Linked DNA regions of Homo sapiens: region 2 is linked to region 1. The links are contacts of gene promoters, found by promoter capture Hi-C in human tissues and cell types (Jung and others, 2019). All regions are on one chromosome and are shown on one strand. Each heading gives the region's core, a stretch centred on a gene start or on the middle of the fragment in contact. The rest is flanking DNA. Distances are from core to core; before and after follow the strand shown.

The links. The method cuts DNA at HindIII sites, captures the fragments that hold promoters and counts their contacts. A contact is called where the count stands out against the background at its distance.
Region 2: a contact is called between a fragment that was not itself captured here and the fragment with the promoter of SGMS2 in region 1, in 1 of the 25 tissues and cell types used here (bladder).

What each region holds. Positions count from the first base shown.
Region 1 is chr4:107,820,695-107,827,338 of GRCh38, forward strand. SGMS2 (sphingomyelin synthase 2) reads left to right here and starts at 4,238. Exons shown (of 7, transcript NM_001375905.1): 1 at 4,238-4,559. RefSeq lists an enhancer at 6,456-6,644. The HindIII fragment of the contact is 5,909 bases long and covers 2,043-6,644 here.
Region 2 is chr4:107,868,864-107,874,661 of GRCh38, forward strand. All of the region lies in intron 2 of SGMS2 (sphingomyelin synthase 2), which reads left to right. CYP2U1-AS1 (CYP2U1 and SGMS2 antisense RNA 1) reads right to left here. Exons shown (of 7, transcript NR_125929.1): 4 at 5,117-5,225; 5 at 4,467-4,581. Among named protein-coding and RNA genes, the nearest start is that of SGMS2, 47 kb to the left of the region's middle. The HindIII fragment of the contact is 3,686 bases long and covers 1,152-4,837 here.

The sequences.
Region 1 (6,644 bases), core at 2,988-5,487:
TCATCTTTGGCTTCATCCTCATATCCCAACTGATCTGCAAATCCTGCAATAAACATCCTCATGCAAAATTAAAAAAAGAAAAACCTTTCAATTCCTGAGACATATGTTCGTTTAGAAGGTAACATGGTGATTCTTTTTCTTTTTCTTTTTTATTTTCTTTTGAGACAGAGTCTCGCTCTGTTGCCTAGGCTGGAGTGCAGTGAAAGGATCTTAGCTCATTGCAAACTCCCCCTCCCAGGGTCCAGCGATTTTCATGCCTCAGCCTCCTGAGTAGCTGGGATTACAGGCATGTGCTACCATGCCTGGCTAATTTTTTGTATTTTTAGTATAGACGGGGTTTCACTATGTTGGCCAGGTTGGTCTTGAACTCCTGGCCTGACGTGATCTGCCTGCCTTGGCCTCCCAAAGTGCTAGGATTATAGCCATGAGCCACTGTGCCCGGACCATGGAGATTCTTAGATAAACAGCCATGGGCACAAAGTAGGAATTCAATACAAATTTGTGGGTTGAGCAAATGACTTTAGATATGTTCAGATTCGAGTTACTGTAAGAGGAAATAAGTACTATAGATCTACATGTTTTCCTAAATCAGTATGTTTTATCAAATCAAAGAAATACCTGTAAAACTTGATTTATGCTGCCTTGGAGAAAACAATGGACAAGAACACACTTATCTATCATCCATTTCTCTCCCTTGAAACACTCAGTGCCATTATTTTTGAAAGGTGATGAATTGCAAATTTTGTCACTTTTCATACATGGTAAGAACAAAAGGTGCAGTTAAAAAACAAAAAAAAAATCATCTTTCTGTGAAAAGGATGTTACTATTTCTTAAAACATAGAAATTAAGATGAGTAATTTGCTTTCTCATATGTTGATAATGAATAGATTGAAAAAACTTCGTATCATCCATTATCAATTATATTATTTAATATATGTACTTGGGGATATTTAAATGGTATAATAAAATGACCTAATTACTTATTTCACAATATTTAAACTGAGGCACAATAGTAACCACTAATTCAAAACTACCCATTCAACAGCCTTCCACACAGAGGCTTATGAGGGAACTACAGGGTTTATATCAGCCAACAGTGCAGGCAGAACTGCAAGCTTTGTTTGGAGCTTTTTGACTTTATCCATGTACACAGGCCAAAAAGCCCACAATATCAATTGAGATCTGTAGAAAATTGTATTTAGACTTATCCCATAATGTCCAAATATTTGGATCATGAAGTAGGGAGTAGGTGGGATATTCACGCAAACTTACTTATAGATGGCTATACATTTGAATCTAGTCATTCAGTGTTACCAATGGATAGGACACCCATGCTTCTGAATTAGCTCTGTGATTGTCTATAAAAACTGCTGATTTGAATTTTGACTGCATCCTAGCAAACCAATCCATTTGCTATTGCCTTCTGGGCAAAATGCCTGGGCTTTGTAAATTTGAAAATGAGCTCCTTATTGAAGGGGAAAAATAAACCCCAGGACAATAACTTTCGATTGGTGGTCTCCTCTGGGTTCTAACCTTTAAAAGTAGCTCTAAAAGAGTCCATTTTCCACAACAATGATGTTGAGCCCTTGGTTAATTTTAGGAGCATTTTCATTTGGGGGAAACTTCTGTATTGTGACAACATCTTTTTTTGGTTTTATATTTTAAAAATTTGGGGGGACCGGGCACAGTGGCTCATGTCTGTAAATCCCAGCACTTTGCGAGGCCGAGAAGGGTGGATCGCAAGGTCAAGAGTTCGAGAACAGCCTGACTAACATGTTGAGACCCTGTCTCTGCTAAAAATACAAAAATTAGCCAGGGTTGGTGGCACACACCTGTAATCCCAGCTACTCGGGAGGCTGAGGCAGGAGAATTGCTTGAACCCAGGAGGTGGAGGTTGCAGTGAGCTGAGATTAAGCCACTGCACTCCAGCCCAGGCGACAGAGCAAGACTCCATCTCAAAAAAATTTTTTTAAATTTAATTTTTGTAGGTACATAGTAGGTATATTTATGGGGTACACACAATATTTTGATATAGGCACATAATGCATAATAATCACATCAGAGTAAATGGGATATCTACCATCTCAAACATTTATCCTTTCTTTATGTTACAAACCAATTATATTCTTAGTTATTTTAAAATGCACAATTACTGTTGCCTGTAGTTGCCCTGTTTTGCTATCAAATACTATACCTTATTCATTCTATCTAACTATATATATATTTTTTACCCATTACCCATCCCCCCTACCCTTCCCAGCCTCTGGTAACCATCATTCTACTGTCTCCATGAGTTCAATTGTTTTAAATGTTAGCTCCCATGAATAAGTGAGAACATGTGAAATTTGTCTTTCTGTGCCTGGCTTATTTCACTTAACATAATGACCTCTAGTTCCATCTATGTTGTTGCAAATGCCAGGATCTCATTCTTTGTTATGGCTGAATAGTACTCCATGGGTATATGTAACGATTTATCCATTCATCTGTTGATGGACACTTAGGTTGCTTCCAAACCTTGGCTATTGTGAGTAGTGCTGCAATAAACATAGGAGTGCAGGTATCTCTTTGATACACTGATTTCCTTTTTTGGGCATATATACCTAGCAGTGAGATTGCTAGGTCATACGGTATCTCTATTTTTAGTTTTATGAGGAACTTCCATACTGTTCTCCATAGTGGTTATACTTTTTACATTCCCACAAACACAAGGGTTCCTTTTTTTTTCCACAACCTCGCCAGTATTTATTGCCTGAGCACCTTTTCATATACCTGTTTGCTATTTGTATGTCTTCTTTTGAGAAATGTCTATTCAAATCTTTTGCCCATTTATTACTCGGACTATTAGATTTTTTTTTCCTATAGAGTTGTTGGAGCTCCTCATATATTCTGGTTATTAATCCCTTGTCAGATGGATAGTTCCCATTCTGTGGGTTGTCTCTTCAGTTTGTTTCCTTTGCTGTGCAGAAGCTTTTTAGCTTAATATGATCCCATTTGTCCATTTTCTTTGGTTGCCTGTACTGTGACGACATCTTGAAGTTGCGAGTTTGGGGATTGCCTGCCTTGTATATTCTTTTCTGTTACCATCATCTTTAATAGCCACAAATGACTGTTGACCCACATGATATCTGCACTAGAAACCCAAAGATTCCCGTCATTATTTTTGTTGATTATATGGAAGCACCCATAAACCAGCGCAAATCCTAAACATAATTATCTTGTCCAGAAGGAGACATTAATGTAAAACTTATGTCAAGAAAGATTTAGCCACATTCCCTCGGATTGGTCATTCCTAGTTAGAGTCCTTGAGGCTGCCATCGTTTACTTTGAAAACTGCCCAGCAGGTGTATGAATAGCAACTCCAGGACAATGTAGAACCATTACCATTTTAAAGACAGCAATCCCCCTTTTAAAAAACTACTGAGGCCTTCGAAGAAACCACACGGCTGCCTTGGGCCCCAAAAGCTGCGGAAAAGCGCAGTATTCAGTTAAGCAAATAACTACTTACACTGTTTATTTTGGTTACGATTCCTTAAGTGAGAAGTAAATCAATTAACAGGACAAATGACACGATGGTTAGGCACGAAAGGGACAGTGCTGCCACCTCATTAGCTTGGAGCAACCTTCCAGCTCATACCATGCGGACTGATGACTAACCTTGCCAGGCAACGCTGTGAGGTTTGGAAACCCACCTCTTTGACCTAGGCCCGGTCAACACCGATAAACCCTCTGAATCAACGCTGGCGCTCCCAAGCCCACTCACACGCCGTCAGGAAGCAGTTTCCGAAACAGGCCGGGTGCGGGGGTGGGGGATCCCGTTCCAGCCCCACCCCTGAAAGTTGCTGGGAGTGGCACCCAAAGAACTTTCCCAGATTGATCTCTGTTGCCGCTCAGGGAGGTCAGCTCCAGGCCCTCAGCCTTTCGGCCGGGAGCCAAACTGCCCTGCCTGCCAAGCCCCTCCTTCTCTGCACCTTAAACAGCCGCGAGGGGAGAGTCGGCTGGGATTTTCTTCTTAAGAAGTCGCGCAGGTTTTTCGAGCTCCACTCTGCGCCAGGAGAGCCACGGCAGCAGGAACGGGCACTGCTGCCACCGGGCCGACGGGTGAGTCACTGTTTGGAAATGGAGTGGGCGGGCGAGGGTGTGAGAGAATGAATGATGTCAAGAGCGCGCTGGGCGCAGGGCGCAGGGAGCGGGCCGCGCGCGGCGGGCGGGGAGAGCGGGCGCGGGGCCGCGGTCAACACTGAGCGCCGCGCCGTGGGCCGAGTGGGGCGGGGAGACCCAGCCCTCGGCGCGCACGGAGCCTGGCCGGTGCTGCAGCGCCGCCGAGTGCGGCCTCGGGGGCGGCGGCCGCGGGAGGGACCCGGAGAGCTGCTTCCCCTAGTCAGGCCGCGGCGTGGGAGGGCGAGACCCCGAGCAAACTTTCTAGCGGCTTCGGCCCGAGGGTGGTGACGCCCGGGGCTGGTCGCGGCGGCTGCGGCAGCGGGCTCCATCCCCTGGCAAATCCCCTTCCCGGGAGCAAGTGCCTTCAGCTGGGAGTGTCTGGAGCCCTGGCCACCAGCGGGTAAGGAGCGCGCGGAGGGGCCAGGAGGAGGATGGGCTGGGGAGCGGAGAGTCCTCCGAAGCGCGGGAGGGGAAAGGTGGATTGCGAAGCGGGGACGTGGCTCTAATCCGGCCCCCACCCTCCCCGCCCAGGGCATGCTTCCTCGATTTTGTGGTCTGGAGGAGAGATGTGTGCCTTAGTCTCCTTCCTCTGAGCAGTCATCTCATTCATTTGCAACCCATTTCGGGTACCCCGGTCCTGGCGTTGGAAGGGCACAGGTTAAACCCCAGATTGTCCAGAACCACTCCGGAGGTCAGGGCTGAAGTTCAGTTGGTGGAGGAGGGACTGTGTGTGTGTGTTTGTGTGTGTGGTTTTTCTTTTCTTTCTCTTTTTTTTTTTTTTTTTTTTTGAGAGGCACTTACTGATGATGTGTGAACAGTAACAGCCCAGCTCTGGGCAGCCCACACCGAAACCCTTCAACGTGTGGCATTCCAGAGCTGCTCCCTTTACGGAAGGGAAGACTTGGTTTCTCAGCGAAAATAAGGGGCGGGGAACCCCTGTCAACATCCATCCAGAGGTATGGATAATCATTAATTATCCACGGCTTGAAACCAACTCAAAATGTTATGTCCTGTAGTCTTTTTTATTTATTAATGTTGCCGGTCCTCTATTTCAAGTCTTGCCTGCTCTGAAATGACCTTAAAATCATTTTGACATGTGTGTTATATTTTGAAGAGATTCAACTGTTTAGTGTCACTGGATTCGGCGTGGGTTTTCAATCTGTACCTAACTTTTCAAATCCTTGGTTTCATTACCAGTCTCCTCTATTAACGGTGGGTGCTCAGGCACATTAAACATTCTGAACCAGTAAAATGGGATTATAGCTACTTCAGATAATAAGGTGGATTAAATAAGGATTAATAATGAGGATAATAATGAGGATTAAAGCGCAAAAGACTTCTCATAATGTCTGGTACAAAGCAGACCCCAACAAATTATAGCTGTTTATATATAAATAATAGTGTGTTGCAGCTGGCTTAGGTAATAACCAATTAATTTCCACAGAATGTCCTCCTTATAAGCCTGGTGGGCCGAGGGTTAGCATGTGAAATCCTTTGGCAAGTTCCTTAGATTGGGAAGTGATGTTTTCAGCAAGTTAAACATTTTTAGTACGGATACCTGAGAAGGTTATGGTTTCCATCCTGTGTCATGGGAACTGCCATTTACTGTTTAAACAATGTCAGAGCAATGGCTGAAAGTGACAACCTGGAATTTACAGGAAGAAAGGACGTGAGGAAGCTAACTTTACCTTTACCTTTTTTTTTTCCTAAAGAAGCAGTGCAAGCAGTGCAAAATTTCCTCTTTATGGCCCTTTCCTTGGTCTTCTAATGTTCTTACTTCACAATAGTCTGGTTGAAGTGTTTTTTTTTTTAACAAGTTAATGTTTAATTTGGTTCCTTTGGTTTCATTTTTAAGTAAAGCTAGTTGACTTGTGAACCTAGAGGGAAACACTTGGACACCTTGAGGTGGCTGCACCTTGTTCTGAGTTTCTCCCCTCGCAGAATCTCATAAAAGCCCTAGGAAATGTTTGGAAGAAACTTTAGCACTTGTGCACGTTATTGAAGACATTTGCTCTTACCATAACTATAACAACTTACAGGGTGAAAGATCTGGGAGCTGTCCTACGACAGTACCGTGTAGTGAGATCATGGACATGGGAATCCAGGAGACCTGAGGCTCTCTGAGCTGTGTTCCTTTGAGCAAGTTTACTTAAACTCTTTGGGATTTTTGTGGGACTTTAAACAAAATATAGGGGAAAAATAGAAATAATCTTAGAACTATTAAAATAGACAATGGAGTATCAGTGAGAACTTTTTTTAAAAGTGATGCTTTGAGGTGAGATGTTTCTTTTTTAAAGGAATAATTACTGAGAGTTTTGGACAGTTTTAGACTAAACAATGACTTACCCACCTTTAGCGTGTTGTCTCAATGGAGAAATTGAAGGCTTTGTCTTGAACTACTAGTATCAGATATTTATTTGCTTAACGTTTAGTATGCAACAACTACATAACAGCCACTGTGCTAGGGGCCAGCAATGCAAACGAA
Region 2 (5,798 bases), core at 1,745-4,244, 47 kb after region 1:
TTTCACATTTGAAAGCTTTATGATTATTGAATATTATGTTCAAGTAATTTTGTGCATTTTCTTACTATTGACAGCCTTTGAACAAGTCTGATTTGTACTTACAGAACACCATTTTTAAGAGATTTGTGTAATTGTGCATGAATATAGGTCAAAAGGTAGAAGTAAAGAATAGTAGCCATACCATGAACATGTTGGGCACAAAGCACCCAAGAGGGGGAGGTTGGTTTCTTAAGAAGCAGAAAGTTATAAATGGAAATGAGTGTTTCTTTTTAAAAGGGAATTTAGGAGAGAGGGGACACTAGGTTTTGTAACCCAACTGGGTAGTGAGTGCTGTATTTGAAAGTTCATTTCTAGGTCCAGTAGCACATACCAGGGAGTTGTAGCAGGAAAGGTTTGTTGGAGGATATGACATCTGCTGAGACCTGAAGCACGAGAGCCAAGTGTGTAAGCAAGTCGATGGGATTGGGAAGAAGTTTAGGCTGCTAAAAAATTTTTACATAAAGCTTGATAAGAGGGGATATTGCATGTGAAATAAACAGAAATTCAGTAAATATGGTGGAAGTGCAGGATTTAGGGGATGGAAAAAAATACTAGTTTCAAAAATTGAGGCTAGAAGTGAAGGTAGGGGCCAGATTATGAAAAGCCTTGTAAGCAATGCTAAGAAACAATAGATGTCAGAAGGACATGCCACCATCTAAAAAGCAGTCTTGAGAACAAGTAATTGGATAAAGGTGACCTGACTAGGTATTTGTTTTTTTAAGTAAATTGTGTTAATTTTGTTAGGTGTAAAAATGGCATTAGGGTCATGTTGGGGAAAAAAGAATCTCTTTCTTACAGATGAAATTACATGGTCTCTGAGACTGCTTCCAAAAATACAGAGTAGAGGACAGATTAAAAAAAAAAGATTTCCTGTGATAATTGTTATGGCTAATGGGGTTCACTGTAGTATTTTCTACTTTCATTATGTTTGAGATTTTCTATTATAAATTTTTTCTTAAGTCAAAATAAGCAATGGACTTTTGGGTCATAGGGAGCCATTTAAGGTCTTTAACGAGGTCAGTAAAGCAGGAAATAGATTAGGAACAAAACCAGAGAGGAAGGGAGTGCTGCATTAAATACCATGATTGTGGAGCTGTCAGTTTTTCCTTGTGTAGGAATGTCCATGATTTTATATCTTCTTGGTGAGCTGTTCTCTATTATCTATTTTCTCAATACTTTTACGTTGTACTCTAGTTGTAAAAGTACTGGTGATGCCTGCTATTCCTAATAACTATATCAGCCTTTTATTTACAAAATAATCTTGTATGTAGCTTTTTAGTGGATGGATTGGATCCATTTAAAAATTGTTGTGGCTGTTGATTTGTTTGGACTTATGTCTGTCCTCTGTAAGTAAGAGATGTCTGTGAAAAGAAAGCAGAGGTAAATAGATGGGAGATTAAAATGGACAGGATTTGTAGTGATTTTCAGGTGAGCAGGGGAGGGAGTTTGAAGTCGGGTAATAGCCAACATTTATTTACTCCGAGTAGCTGATTGGATGGTGGTACCGTTTACTGTGATAAGAAATGGAAGAGGAGGTGCGTGAGTGGAAGGAAATGTCAAGTGTGTTTTGGTACATGAGTTGTAAGCATCTGCTTTTTCTTTGTTCTTAGAGCTATGAACTCTTAGATGGAATTCATTCCTTTCCTTTAAAGATACCCGCCATTAACCCATAATCACTTTTGCCAATTTTAAGATTTCCTCTAAAGTATAGATGCACGTTAACCAGAATGTCATTTTTGGTTTCGTTTGGTTTGGTATAAGCTTTGGAAATGGGCTCCCAATGTCCTATGCTTATTGATGCAGATTATGCTGTAAGAGATAATTTTAGAAACAATAAAAACAAAAACTCATTTTCTAGGCTGCTTCTTTGTTTCATGGTAAGCAAAGAAGTATAATTCTTTGATATTTTTAAATATAAATTTTTGATAGCATGTTTATATTTTAAAAAGCAATTTAAAGTGATTATTTATAGGCAAGCACTTTTATTTATATAGAGTCATCAATGACAATTAGATTTAATGGAAATAAGATTAACTATAAAATTACATCTTTTAGCTTCCTAATGCTAATTGAACATTGAGTTTGTAATGTTTCCTGACTACCTCTTGGCATTATGTTCAGGTTTAGAGACAGCGATTTTAATCATCCTGTGTTTTTCTAAGCCCATTTCACCCTTTAGAAAACAGTTTTGATCATAGTTCACTCCCATGGATAGACCAGTGCCAAACCAAATAGGATAAGTACTTGGCTGATTTTCTATTCACTGCTGATAGGCGGAGCTTGGCATTTTAAAAGGCTATTAACAGAGAGAGAGAGACTATTTTACTTATTTCTGATTTTATTTTCAGTTTTTATCTATATACCCTAGACGTTTTAAAAATTCCTGTTAAGTTATATATAACCAGTCTTTTTCCCATTTTATTTCTGTCATTTGAATTTACTTTTCACTTTTACATCTACCTGGCATATGGTTTCACTAAACTTCAAATGTTATTTCAGGCTGTTTTCTAATTTGTAAAAGTTTTTATCTCTCATTGTTCTTTTTAAGTGACTTCTGCTTGGGAAGAGGGGAAAAAGCAGTTACTGAATCAAAAATGCCTTGAGGACGGGAGCCAGCTTTCTCTTCTGCCGCCTTCCTTAGCACTTAGGACCCAATTCTGCACAGAACAGGAGGACATAAATAATTCTGTCTTTGTTGGCTGTCTGTTTACTTTACCTTCTAGGCTATCAGCAATAGTATTAACCATTGCTACATATTTAACCGGCAAGTACTGGTATCTTGAGTTTGGTCACTGTTTTTCATTCAACCCAGGGTACAGTTTTAAAAGTTTTCTATACCTGTAGTTTCTATCCCGTTTACTCAAGATAAAATTTAAAAACGTCTGCATTGAAGGTCAAATTCTGAATTCTTGTTAGATATTTGATAGCTTTAACTTTTATGTCTCCACATAATGCTTTTGTTTTTATTCTTCCTCTGCTTATAATATTGCATCTTTAGCCTTTTTTAAAAAACCTAATATGCGTTAAACACTTATTTTAAAAAAACAGCACTGGGATGATCAATTAAATAAAAGTCCATCATGACCAGTGTAATTAGAATACTATACACATGCTATTTTGATCTATTATAAATAGAAAAGAACTCAAAGGCAAAAATCCATAATTGAGTAAGTATGGGAGCATCTTCAGAGGAATCTTTTTAGTTTTAGAAAGTTATATTAGTACAGGTTTCTAGAGGGCATTTACTGTAATTGGATCTCAGTAGGTTGGAACATAGATGTTCCTGATGTTCTTTTGACTTGATGTTGCACTGATTTTTCTTTCTGACAATGGTTGTTCATTTAAAATTTTAAATTGAGTGTTATCTCATAACACTCAAATTGAGTGTTTAAATTGAGTGTTATCTCATAAGCCTGGTGAGCCTAATTGAATAGCCACCCTTTAACGTCCCATCCTGCTTTGTCTTCGTAGCAGTTTTAATCTTTCATTATTATTGTCTTACATTAGCAGAATTCAAGCTCCATGAGGGAAGCGACTTTTTAAAAAATTGTTATATCCCTAGAACAGTGACTAGTACATAGTTGGCACTCACTAAATATTATTGAATAAATAATTATCTTAGCCAAGCATAGTATTGTGCACCTGTAGTACCAGCTACTCAGGAGGCTAAGGCAGGAGGATTGCTTGAGCCCAGGAGTTAGAGGCTGCAGTAAGCTATGATTGTGCCACTGCGCTCCAGCCTTGGTGACAGAGTGAGACCCCTTCTCTTAAAAAAAACAATAAGAAGAACAACCTTTGTCTTTTTAGGCAGTAAAATTAAAACATGCTGCTTATTTATTTTTTCAATGCAAAAAAAGATAAAAAGTGAAGTAAATGTTCCATGTAGTATCACCCTTCCAGTAACCATGTAATTTATATAACACAATTTTCTTTATATAATATACATTTATTTATAATGTAACTAGTCCCATTTTGATGGACAGTGTGGTTCTGGTTTTTCAGTCTTACAGATCCAGAATCACTTATCCACAATTTCAAAATCTGAACAGTAGTAGAATTACTATGTCAAAAGATAAAAGCATTTCTAAAGCTCATCATATATTTACAAAGAGATTCTCAAAAGAATGGTACCAATTTATGATTCTACCAGCAGCTCACTGCAGTTTTTATGCTCCGTTCTGATTACAGCTTAAATTACATTTTAATGGGATTTGTTTCAAAATAACTTTCCAGTGTTCCTTATCCATGAATTAGAATAGGGTAGAAGCTTGTGTGCTAATTTGTCAATGAGACATTCTGTAGGAAGTTCTTATTATTGGTAATTTGGAAATATTTAGTCACAAGAACTCTTTTGCCTACGATTTGTCAGAGAAGGTATAGGGGAAATCAGCTTCAAATAGGAAGTAAAGAAATGAGTTCTGGCTTACCTCAGATTTACCTTCTACTTCTGTTTCTCTACTCCCTGCAGAAGTAGATATCACAGCAGAAGTTCTTCTCTGTTACCCATGTTTTCTCAGGGTTTAGATTTCTGAAATCACTTGCCTTCATATACATACGAGGGATATGAAAAGAATGTGAAAATGAAAAACTGACTTAATGTGCAAAGAAAGACGAGCATCAAGGCCCCAGATGAAAGCCTTGATTATATAAATAATCAAAATTATATTTTATATATTATTAATCTAAAATTTATTATATACTTATGCTGTGTTTATTTGCATACAATAATGAACTGTTCCTGAGAGAGTATCTGACTTTTTCACATGGTAAATTAGTTTTAATTGTGGTTCTGTATACGATTTACTGTTGCCACAGTCGAAATATTTCAGTTCAGTCTGTAGAATTTCAATATCACGTTGCTGTGTAAGAGCACCTGCCCACAGTTCCCACCACAATTTGGATTTTCATCCAAATACTCAGGATTTTAATGGCAAGGATTGATCCCCCTGTAAGTTTTACTTTTACAGAACATGTCTTACTTTGGGCTCCTAAGAACTATTTAAGTGCAGCTGCAGTGTCTACCTTCACTTTTCCACATTTTTATTCTCTTTTAAGGCTTTATTGCAGAAACTCTTACTCTTGTTCAGCTATTCCTTTTCTTTTCCAAACTCATTTCTCTCTTCTGATCACCTTCCGAAGGGACAGCTTGGATACATTGGAACTAAATTTCTTGTTTTATAATATATCTAAAAGAAATACAAAATAAGAGCTGTATACTGTGTTCTAGGTTTCTGCGAAAGAAAAACAGGCAGTTCACTAGGGATCACAGCATAATTAATGGTGTACAAATAGACACTCCACAATCATTATTGTGCCAGCAGCCACCAAAGCTTTGTGATGGAATGTTCAAGCTCTGTACAGGGGGCATTACTTTAGTAGAGTAGGCAACAAAAGACACATTTGTTTATTAGAAACTTTGCTTTGCAACTTTGTGAACCAGCACAGTTGGTCACAAATGGAAATAAAAGTCTTGAGTGAGCTGTTCTGCCTTTTTTAAGAGAGAAATGCGCCATTCCCTGAAGGTTGCTGGATTAGTTTACTTGCTCTAGAGCTAGCAACATAGGGATTTAGTTCTAAAGAACCTTATTTTTCCCTAGAAGACTATGTCTGTTGGTAGCCATTCTGAATATACTAAACCACTAATGTTATCTAAAACAGTACTTAAGTACTATGATGAATAAACCAAATTTATTTCCAAGTGATTTTTTTAAGTATACAAACTTTCTAGTGAACATTTTGGAAATTTACATTTTATGGCA